2 separate regions of the Homo sapiens genome follow, and region 1 is linked to region 2. Evidence: promoter capture Hi-C in 16 types of primary human blood cells and fetal thymus (Javierre and others, 2016). All regions are on one chromosome and are shown on one strand. The core of a region is centred on a gene start or on the middle of the fragment in contact, and the rest is flanking DNA. Distances in the headings are between cores, read along the strand shown.

The links. The method cuts DNA at HindIII sites, captures the fragments that hold promoters and counts their contacts. A CHiCAGO score of 5 or more calls a contact.
Region 1: a contact is called between a fragment that was not itself captured here and the fragment with the promoter of IKZF1 in region 2, in 1 of 17 cell types (neutrophils). The highest score is 5.0, in neutrophils.

What each region holds. Positions count from the first base shown.
Region 1 is chr7:50,667,751-50,673,664 of GRCh38, reverse strand. GRB10 (growth factor receptor bound protein 10) reads left to right here. Exons shown (of 19, transcript NM_001350814.2): 7 at 3,802-3,943. Among named protein-coding and RNA genes, the nearest start is that of DDC, 110 kb to the right of the region's middle. RefSeq lists enhancers at 3,424-3,923, 3,924-4,425. The HindIII fragment of the contact is 4,644 bases long and covers 1,898-5,914 here.
Region 2 is chr7:50,302,617-50,308,404 of GRCh38, reverse strand. IKZF1 (IKAROS family zinc finger 1) reads right to left here and starts at 3,689. Exons shown (of 8, transcript NM_006060.6): 1 at 3,483-3,689. RefSeq lists a silencer at 3,577-4,376 and an enhancer at 5,231-5,732. The HindIII fragment of the contact is 6,071 bases long and covers 745-5,788 here.

The sequences.
Region 1 (5,914 bases), core at 2,970-5,469, 360 kb before region 2:
GGTTGGCAGAGCATGGCCGGTTTGGAAGTGGTCTCAGGAGCCCCCGGATGGGAGATGATTGTGCGCTGCCTGAGGATGAAGAAGGAGGGGGGATTTGAGCACGTTGCTGAGGAGGAGCAGCTGCGTTTTGCCAGCACTTGAATTTTGCCAGGGCTGTGAGGAGACAGAGAGTGTGTGGAGGGTGACTTGGATTTTGTCTCGAGTGCCTGGGAGGAGGGTGTCTAGAGAATGGTCATGTCGAAGGTGAAGGTGCTGAGAGTACCTTAGACATTCTGAATGAAGATCTTTGTAGAATCAAGCTGAGAGCCAGGGGCAGCCCTCAAGGATCCGCCTGTCTGCCCTGTCGCAGTCGGGATGGCGTGGGGCTCCGTGGGACCCTGCGTGCCTCTCTGGGCCTTTGCGGAGGATGTACAGCCATCTCTGCTGGGACTGCCCCTTGCCCTCACTGGCCTCTGTCAGGATGGGGTTCTGGTGCCTTCTGTCTCAGCACCCCATCTTCCGGGGAGCTCTGTTCATTTCCTGGGCTCTTCTTGCTTCTAGAAACTTCTGAGAGTTTTCTTTGTGGTCTGACATCTTGGGTCTTCCGCAGCCCAGATAATCACCTTGCCCCAGGTGGCAGCTGTTTCTTACGGAGGGGAGAGGGTGCAGCGGCCCTGGCGCCCGTGGTCAGCTGCCTCCCCAGCTTCCCACCCCGGCTTCCCCTCCGACTTCTCACTTTTTGTCATATTCATTGATGCTGAATGATGCCTGTCCCAGGGTTTGTTCAACTTTGCTCTTTGAAGCGTGACCCCTTGTACTTAGCTCCTGAGGAGTTAAGTCTGGTGGGAGAGCTGTTTTTCTCTTGGGAGCATCTCTTGGGAGCATCACAGTAGCCTTGGGGAGTGCCTGGGAATATGGAGGTGCAGTTGCATGGCGAAGGTGCCCGAGGGTGGGCTGGAAAGCCAGAAGGCCTGCCTCCCTGCTGGAGTAGTTGCCCAGGACCCTTGAACCTCGAGTTCTGGCTGAACTCGCCCATATGTGCCCCGGGACTACCTGCGCTAAGTCCCTGGGATGGAGGGGCAGGCTTGCTCTGTGGGACAGCAAAGCCCTCTCCCTACAGGGTCACAGGTGCTGTTCCTTGGGCCCAATGTCTTCTCTCTGGTGTCCTCTCAGATAAGTAGTTTTGTTTCTTACTTTCAGGTGGATTAAAAAAAAATGTGGAGATCAATCTGGAATCACCAAAGATTATTTTGTGAAGTGAGGCCATTTGCTGAGTGCTTACTGTGTGCAGATGCTGATGAGCTCCTCCTTGTTATCAGTGCCCTCGGAGGGAGGCAGTGTGGGTTACCCTCGCTTCCCAGCTGAGGAAACCGTGGCACAGCGGGGCGGTAACTGGGCTCACCACATCAGGTGGGAAGTGGCCATGGAGCAGGCTGCTGGGTACCAGAGGTCACGGAGCATGGTCCACGCTGCAGAGGAACTTACCGGGGGCTGCCATGCAACCCGAAGGGAGCTGGGGGGCAGGCAGGGTATGGGCAGAGGAGACACTTGGGAAGGGCAAGAAGGCTTTGCACATAGGAAAGCCGATGGGTGAGCCGATTCTGTACAGAGAAGGAACCCAGGCTTTTGAGAGTGCAAGGGCCACGCATGTGTTCTAGACAAACACAAGTGAGCCAAGGCACAGAGAAGAAGGACCTCGCCCCTCAGCTCTGCAGTTCCTGCCACCATCCCTGACATCCCTAAATCTCAGCACCCCTCTCCATAGTCACTGTCCCTTCTATTGTGAGCCTCTTTGGTGGGGATTTTTTGTCTTTGTGTGATATCCCTTAGTCTTGCCTTAGGCGATGTCTCTGAGCCGCTTTAAAGTCAACACAGGACTTTTTAAAATGCTCAAAACAACCCAATAAATAGAGAAGCTTTTGTGGACACTAAAACGTCAGATTATCTTTTTGGGGTGAAGTCACTGGCTAGAAGCCGTGGATGGGAAAGTGGCACTGGCCACCCGTTTTATCCATCTCCTCCTGTATGACAATGGCCAGACGTTTCAGTTGGACGCCTTGCCAAGGCTGAAGCTGTTATGGGAAGAGTGGGATTTGTTCACAGTAAAAATAAACTTTATGGCATGTCATCAAACCATTATAGGAACGGCTTTCCTGTATTTCGCAGCACTGATTCCCTTCATGCCATGTGAGTTCTCGTAATTTTAAATCCATGCATCATTTGCTGGTCTACGTGGGATAGTTAGCTGGATCTTCCTTTAAAAAATAGGGAAAGTTGGTAAAAGAGAAAAAGTAATACAGTCACAAAATGTGTTTCTGTAGTGGCAAATCTCCTGGGAAAGCTAACGGATTGTTGATTTTGTGAAATCGTAAAAATTGTCAAAAAAATTACTTGAGGACACAGCCTATGATGGGGGTTTCTGAGGTATGTTTAAACATGGGGAGGGATTGGAAATGCCGAGTGAAGATAATGTGAGGTTTGCTCCCCTCTCCTTGAAGGTAGGAGGCTGCAGACAGGGCCGCGTGGCCTCAGGAAGGGTGGAGGAGGCTGTGTGTCCAGGAGTGCCCTGGAGGTGTGGGCCAGAAGTTACTCTACAGAGGGGAGGTGCCAGACACTTGACATTCGCTTTGACTTTGAACTTGATTTCTCTGCTGTTCACAGTTGCTTCTGATTCGTCATACTGTGTGTGTGTTGCATAGTTGTGTGACAAGTGGGTTGTGCATTTTTCGGAGGAGGGAACAGATGCCCCTGGAGATGTGCCAGGAAAGTAGAGGTGGTGTGTGGATTCAGCGTGTGTTTCCAAGGTGTGTTTCTAATGTGGACACAGGCTTTGCGAGGACAGATACATGAAGCTATAATTTCCAGTTAATTCAGTGTCAACAACCTTTTTATATAAGTAACCATCCATTGCATAATTCAGATGAGAACACACAGCCTTTTCTTGTATTTTCATTTGATTAGATTAATGCTCATTTCAAGGACATTGAAAAACACTTGGTTCTCATGAAAATGCTCATATTCAGAAAACTTTCACACATCAGGTATTCACTGATCAAACGGATGAGGTATTTGGAGCTGATGCCATGTCAGGCACTGAATGCTGCCTGAGATGAGCACGCACCCAGGACAACAAAACTTCGGCACCCCGCCCCCCGCCCCCGATGCCTAATGAAGAAGAGAATTGATACCCAATACCCTTTGGGTCTGAGAATGACAACTTGTAATTTTTTTAAAGTTTTCGTTTTAGTAAAATACATGTAACATAAAATTTACCATATTAACTGTTTTTTTCAGGGTACAGTTCGGTAGTATTAATGCACACTCACAATGGTTGTACAATCTCCAGAACTTTCTCATCTTATGAAACTGAAACTCTGTCCCCAATAAACAGCGATTCCCCATTGCCCTCCCCTTAGTCCCCTGGCAGCCACCCTTCTATTTTCTATGGGTTTGAATACACTACCTACCTCACTGGGTGAAATCACACAGTGTCTCTGGTTTTGTGACTGGTGTGTTTGACTCTGCATAATGTCTTCAGGGTTCATCCGTGTCGTAGCCTGTGTCAGAATGTGCTTCCTTTTTCATGGCTGAGTAGTGTTCCATGGTATGGATATGCCACATATTGTTCATCCATTCATCCATCTGCAGACCCTTGGGATGCCTCTACTTTTTGGCTTTTGTGAAGGATGCCACTGTGAACGTGGGCATGCCAGTGACTCCTAGAAGCCCTGTGTCCTGCTTTCTGGGTGTATCACCACAGTGGTAAGGCTGGGTCATGTGGGGAATGGCAGCTTTTAACAGGCACTTATCCCTGCCTTCCAGGCGCCTTCAGGAGGAAGACCAGCAGTTTAGAACCTCATCTCTGCCGGCCATCCCCAATCCTTTTCCTGAACTCTGTGGCCCTGGGAGCCCCCCTGTGCTCACGCCGGGTTCTTTACCTCCGAGCCAGGCCGCCGCAAAGCAGGTGAGTGTGCCCCTGGCTGGAGCCCAGGCTGAGGGATATGCCAGATTATTGGGATCTGCACAGATGTGCCAGATTATTACTTTGGGAAGAAGGGCGGGAAGTCCTGGGATCTTCTCTCTCAGTTCTTTTCTTGTTGTCACAGTACTTGTTGTCCTATGAGGCCGATACAGTTTGGATGTTGTCCCCTCCAAATCCCATGTGGAATTGTAATCCCCAATTTTGGAGGCAGGGCCTGGTGGGAGGTGATTGGATCTTAGGGGTAGATTCCTCATGGCTTGGTGCTGTCCTCACAATAGTAAGTTCTCACGAGATCTGGTTGTTTAAAAGTGCGTGTCATCTCCTCCCCTTGCTCCCACTCCTGCTGTGCGAGACGCCAGTTCCTGCTTTGCCTTCTGGCATGATTGTAAGCTCCTAAGTCCTCATCAGAAGCCGAGCACATGCCCGCACCATGATTCTTGTACAGGCTGCAGAACCATGAACCAATTAAACCTCTTTTCATTATTGATCAAAACTCTGTTTTATCTTTATATTTTAGAAAAAGTCTCATAAAAAATGGCAAATAATAACAATGATTTGATGTTTAAAGATGAATCTTAGTTCTTTGAAAAAGTTTCACCACTGGCTCAATAATAGGTGTGAAAATGCTGGGCTCACCCGGGCACCTGGATGTCAGTACACAGGAGTTGAAGAGTTTCTGTCTTGTAGTCCTGACTTTGAATATGATCTGCCGAAAGCAGAAGAGTTTCCATTGGACCCGCAGGGCAATAACCTCCTTTTTGAACTTGTAGTTTCTACTTAAAGTAGATCCATGAAGTAGATAGGACACAACCATTGTCCCCATATGAGGAAACTGAGGCACAGAGCATTTCAGTAATGTGTCCAAGGTCAAACAGCCAACAAGTCAGCTTAGCAGAGAAACTGGCAGAGAAAGGGGTTGAAAGTTCCTCCCCACCGGTTGGCAGGGCTGTGAGCCAGGATGGGCTGCAGCCTCTGGAGGAAGACCCCTAGGGGTGGAGGTGATCATTAGAACAACTGCGCCATCTGATGTTTATGGAGTGAGGGATTTCTGTGTGCCAGGCCTTGTCGTAAGTGGTGGATATGTTTATTTTTTGTTTATTTATATGTTCATTTACTCCTCATGCCATCCCGTATGAATTAAGTACGCATGTTCCCTCTGTTCCACAGTTGAGGGAAGGGAGGCCCCTGTAAGCAGCTGAGCTGAGTGTGGCTGAGACCTGATGGTGCGGCTGAGTGTGACCCGGCCTCAGAATCGGAGCCTGTGATTGCAGCCACTGTGCTGATTGGCTTCCCGGGACTTTGACTTTCCTTCTGCTAAATGCATATTTAGAAGTCATTTTGCCCTTCTACTTGAATCATCTCTTCTCCCTACTTGCTCTCACTTCCCTACCTTTGCTGTTCTCAAGCAAGACAGGCCAGCCATCCCTTTCTCTGCAAATCTGCCTGTCCTGTGCCATGCAAGGTCTGTCCTCTTGAGAGAGAGACCTTTTTCCAATACCCGCTGGCTCCCAAGTGTGGGTCCCGTTCTGACCTCAGGCCCCCGGAGCAGGCTGCATTATGGCACTATCAAAACTTAGAAGGTGAGGTAAGTGTCCCTCATCTGGGAGCCAGCACTGGCTGGGCTTGTGCACTTTGTCACATGTCTAAAGTGCATCTGGGATGTCTACCTCGCTGGTGACCTTCTGCTTCAAATAAGGATCCAGACAAGCTGTCTGTGGGTTTTGTCACTGAGGTTGTTTACAGAGCTACCCATTCTAAAATAAGACCATGAAAATATTATCTGGCTCTCTCAGCCTTTGGCAAGAAAATTGGCCTCCACCCCCAGGGATTGTCCAAATTTGTAAGCAGAACAAGGAAACCGGGGAATTTTGCCTGCTGGTGTTTTTCTTGGGATCAGAGCTTGTTCCCCATGAGAACGTGGCATTGGTGTCTGTGTCACTCGTGTCCTCAAGC
Region 2 (5,788 bases), core at 2,440-4,939:
TATTACCAGGTGGTTGGCTGAAGGCTCCACTGGCAACTACCTATTTATTATAGTCAAACATGAGAGGGAAAAACGTCAACTGAAACAATTTGGCAGTTGCCTGTAGATTAGGCCTCAGTTGCTCTTCCTCCAGGCCCTTCTCAGGAGTAACCACCAAGGAGACACCAAAATGGGCAGGCCCGCACTTCGCCACTTAAAAACCTTCTGCAAACCTTCTTTTGCTTGCTGTTTTATCTCACTTGTAATATATGGCACTTCATAAGGTTTCATAATGTCTTAAAAAATATTTGTTGGAATATTACCAAACATTTAAAAACTCAAACTAAAGCTACTAAAGTGACGACACTGAAACTTTAAGGACATAAACATATATTCCAGGAGATGTGGAAAGGTAACCTGAGATATGAAGTCATTTATTAAACTGCAAAGAAATACAAGAAAGCCATGGTCCACATGAAGACACCAGCATGAGTGTTCAGTCAGCACTACAGTAAAAACAGCTTTGTTACTGTCGATATCCTTTGGTTTTAGGTGCTCTGCGTCCCTAACAAAACCTCATTCCTATCTTGTTCCTCATCTGAATTTTAAGTGTGTGTGTGTGTGACAGTGTGTATAATGCTGATCCTCTGAAACTCTACGTTTCTAAGACCTAGATCAAAAATGTACATGTGCCCTTTTTGAGCAAAATAAAACTGATCTGTTTTCAAGACGTGAAATAGATTAATGTTTCTCTTCTTGTAAGCTTCAAAGGATGGGTCACTTGTTGCTTTTACATCTTGTGTTTTCTCCCATAAAATGGAATGATTATTCAGCACAAATATGAAATGGAATAGAGCTGAAGTCTCTGTAGTTATGAACATAGAGACACCAGAGAGAGAACAATGTTCACAGCCAGGACAGGAGCTGCAGCAACTCTGCCGCTAGAAGCAGGCGTCACAGTGCCCCCAGAGTGCTTGTCAGTCTTAGAAACAGAGGCATCGGAAGACAAGCGTTTTCAGAGAACGCAAAAAGGTCGTGGTTTACCTTCTGTAAGCTGGAGTGGAGCCACTTACATCAATCTCCCTTAGAATATGACAAGAACCAACATTTATTTCATAGTGAAATTATTTCACAAGTCCAAAGATTAGAGGAGGAAAAAAAAAATGCCACAAAACAGTGATATCCTTGATGAATTCTTCGTTAACCACAGTTACATTACATTAATACGTACAATTATGCAACACTCAAAAAACGTTATTTATGCCTAAAATTCACCATTATATAACATAGGGAAATCCATCTTGTTTTAGTAAAAGTTTAAAAATAAAGGGGGCCTTTAATACTCATTTCAGGTCTGTTTGATGTTAAAACTCTTCCACACTGCCCCATGCCTCTCACTCCACGCTGTGTGCATGCTGTGTGTGTGCACGCTCTGTGTGCATATGTGCATATGCACATGGAATTTATTTCATGTATCTGTTAATAAATGCATAATCTTGAAGTGTGTGTATAAGTACATTAATATATAGAGAGTTCTTTCCTATTTCAAAATTTTTGACATTTATATTGAAAATATGCTATATTAACCACGCATGAAACACACACATCCAAATCAAGAACAAAAAATGTATCCAAACCAAAGAACCACTGTTCTCAAACTCCAAGTCTCTAGTCAAACAAGGAAGACAGTGGCCTGCAGTACAACAGGGCTTTAGACCTCTTGGCTAATACATTCACTGCGATCTTAGTTTTTCGACAAAGGAAATGGCTACAAACGGCCACAGCTGATCTTCTCTTTAGGAGCCTGTGTAAAACTCTTCGAAAGGGTCAAACCTAACACATCCAGACTTTTATCTGCAGCCCTTGTGGTCTCCTGGAGACCCTGAGGGTGGGTGATTATTGCTATGATGTTTCTGCATTAGGGGGGTGTGTAGTTTTCCAAGAGGTACCACTCTAATTAGAACACTGATGAATTAAACAAGTACTGGAGAGTTTCTAAACTCCTTCCTTCAACTCTCACCGTGAAACAAAAGGGGAAGAAAACATGACCATTTAGTTCAATAAAATGTTCTGGTCACCAGCTCTGATTGACTGTGAGACTTAAGAGTCACGTTTTTTTTCATGTAAAAAATGTATGAAATATGTTCATGGTGAAATTGGAAATCAGATACATTCCATCAAGCAAGAATAGTGTAGTATTTTTAATGTGACATCATTATTTGTATGTGTACACATTATTTCTTTAACTTGTTCTGCATTTTACAAGATGCCAGCGTAAGAAGGTGAATCTTCTTGTCATGAATATTTGCCTCGTGTACATTTTAAGCCATAGCCCAAATGATCTGATTTGTCACGGAAATAATTCTGACACATTCTAATATAAATAATACTGAAATTGTTACTTTTTAAAATTCCATATAAAAGATGAGTACAATAAAACTCATTGAACAAACATCTTCAAACAAAGAAATAAACTCAAGAGGACCCAGGACATTTCTATGTGGGTCCCCCCCACCCCTCGACTCATAACCAAATTGAACCTGGCCTTAAAAGCATTTGAATGTCTATGAAAGTTTAAATATCATACGCAGTATTTTCAAATTCCATAAATTTTCCTCTTTTAACAGAAGTTGATGGGACTAGTAAGGAGACATTTCCTCAACACCATTTTGTCTGGAATTTTAAAACAAGGTATCTCAAAGCTGAAATATACTGCCTGCGGCGCAGTGGGAAATTGTGAGTGGGTAACCTAAGCAAAGCGCACCGCATTGAAATTCAGTCTGGGTGGGCTGCAGTCCCTAGAGAGAGGGAAGCTGCATTTGAAAGCTGTGCCTGGTCAGACCCTATGGAATCGCTACGGTTTTCGGTCATTAGATGCCTCCAAATTAGAAGGAAAAACAAGCCCTCACGAGGTTCCTTAGGCATCAGCAGCGATGCTTGACAAATATTTAAAATACATTTCAAATATAACCGCAAGTAACCTGATGCCTTAATATTACTAAGGGTTTTCCTGAGAAGGTTTGGTGACTTGAGCGTCAAACCTGCGGTCAGCAAAAGGACTAACTTTTCAAAGCCGGGATAATTCCTCTCTTGCAGAAATTAAGTTCAGACTCGATCTCATCATATTTATAGTATAAAAAGAAAGCTCCCGGCTCAAATATAAGGAAAACTCTTTACACACGACTTTATAAAGGCTGACTTCCGTGGGTATATGTAGGTCTACATAAATTTAAATATGGTTGGGAGCTAGAACTCCTCTCCTGGTGACAGCGGGGCTGCTCAGAAGTGTCCCATGTCGGCCTGGTCCTGCACCTGCTGGCACAGTGCAGAGCAACAGACGCTTGACAGAAGTGAACTCTCTCACTGTCCTCAGAAAAGAGAGGCGGACCTGAGCGACACCAGGGTCTACCAACCTTACCGCTTTTCTTTACTGTGTTTTTTTTTTTTTAAATTCACCAGTTACCCCAAGTTTTCCTATTGAAATTCAATTTGAAAACACTCACGTGGATTTGTGCGTCGCGCTTTGGGGCCAAGACTGATCCTCGGGTGCGAAGAGCAACCTCGGAGCCGGGGCTCCCTCTGCCCTGCCAGGCTTGCCCGCCTCGCCGCGGCCGAGCGTCCCGCCCAGGCTGGGATGCGCCGCGCGGGGACCCAGGGGGCTTGCCGCAGTCACCGCCCCGGGCGCGGGCCGCGCAGTCACTTGTTAGAGTGTCCTGCTAACTTGGCCGCGGAGCTCTTCCCAGCTTTCTTTCACAATGACTTCCTGAAGTTGCTCACTCGCATTGTTCCCCATTTCTCCGCCACACTCCCCGCCCCCAGCCGGCTCAGACCAGGCTTTCGCGCTCCCGGCCGACCGGCTGCCCCGCGCGCACAGCGCCGCCCGCGGGCCCCGTACCTGGCCCCCTCCGCGCCGGCCGCCCCCGCCGCGCCCTTGCGTTGCCACCAGCTGCCGCCCAGAGCGGCGGGTGGCCAGAGCGCGCGCCCTGCCACCCCGCAAACTTTGGGGTGACGCACGCTGGCGGTCCCTGCTCGACCTGCCCCGCAGCCGGCTCGGCCCCGCGCGCACCTCTCGGCCGCCTCCCGGATCGCTGCTCCGGTACAGGGAGCGGGGCGCGCAGAAGGGCGCAGAGCGGGACACGGAGAGGGTGCGTCGTCCCGTCCCCGCCCCGTCGCCGAGTCCCCCGGCTCGCGCGGCGCGCGTCTCAGCCGCAACTCCGGGCCAGAGGGGCCGCGCACGAAAACTTTGCAATCGCGCCGGGCTCCGGCTCAGCCCCCAAAGGCCGCCGGGGCGGCGGCGGGTGCGGGCCGTACCTGCTGGCGCCGCCGCCGGCTGCAGCCCGCTCGCCCGCGCCGGGCCCGCTCGGCGCGCCGCCGCCACCCCCGCGCGCACCGCGCCCGGGCCCTCCCCTCGCCGCCGCGCTTCCTCATTCCAGCGCAGCATCGCGCCGCGGCCCCGCACGGGATGCGGCGGCCGGCGCTGTGTCCGCGGGCCGGGCAGCCCGGCTCGGCCGCGGCGCTGCGGGACCCGCGCGTAACCCGTGGGGGCGCGGCGCGGGCGACACGTGCGGGCCGCCAGGAGGGGGAGGGGGACGCGCGCCGCCGGGCCCGCCACCCTGCACCCGGGGCCGCTGGTCGGTCGGGGCACCCTCACGCTCGCCCCGCTGGCGAGACTGGAGGGACTCGGGACATCGTAAAGCACTTTCCCCAGTGTCTGGGAGCGCCCGCTGTACGCTCAGCTTCACGTCCCTGGAACTGGGGCCCCTTGGCTCCCGGGTTCAGGCTCCGGCCCCAGGATGCGAGTGCCCACCCGAGGGGGTGGGAAAAGTTGATCCTCCGCAAGGGAGGGGAAGGTGCAATTCATTTTCCCAGACAACCAATGGAATACCTCTCGTCTCTCTTCCCTCCCACCTGCTCACGGCAGAAGTTAGGATGGCGCCTTCCATGTTGGCCTGGGTGCACACACAAGTGCGTGCGGAAGGGTGGCTGCAGGCGGAGGTGACAGCGAAGCAATCCCGCAGCCCGCTCGACGGCTCTTTGCGTCTCAGACCTCTCCCTGGCGTGTAAGACACCGTGTGTCTCCGTAAAACGGGAATGCCACATCTGACAGCGCACCCCTTCGCCCTACGGGGAGCCCCTCACTCTAATTAGCCGGGCTCCACCCGAGCAGGAGCCAGCAATGTGTTCAGCTTGAGCAGGAGAGAAAAAGTCATGAATTCCACAAATGCAGCCTGGGCTCCCGCCAGGCGCTAGGGGAGGGGACCCAGAGGAGTGAGATGCGCCTCCTGCCCTTCCAGACTTGTAGGAGCCACCAGGAAGGCACAGAATAAAAATCCCGGGCACCCCTGTGAGGAGGAGCGCCCTGTGAAGAGGGCCGAGAACGTGCTCCTGCTTGGGCGCGGTGGTTCGGGAAGGCGTGAAGACCCATAGGGAGAGCGATGAAAGACCAAGGGAGCCTCCTCAGGGTAGGACATGCAGGCGAAGAAGGCACAGGCCTTCCGGGTGGAGGACACAGCCGGGCAAGGGAATAAGCAGGAAATGTCCCTTCAGGGCAGTTGAGTGTGGCTGGAGACCATCGCTGCCGGGGAAGGTCTTGGCCTGGCCCAGGAGGCCTCCAAGTCGGGGGCCAGGGCACACCAGAGACAGGATCTGCCTCTGCTGCCTCTGGGAGAAGGCCCTTTACCCGTGAATCACAAACAGCGTCTATCCACATTCTCCCTGAGCGCATATGCAGCTCTTACTACAGTACTCAGTGTGTCCTGAAGGGCATTCCGCTGGGCAAGTCTGAGCCAGTTAACTCACTGCTACAGCC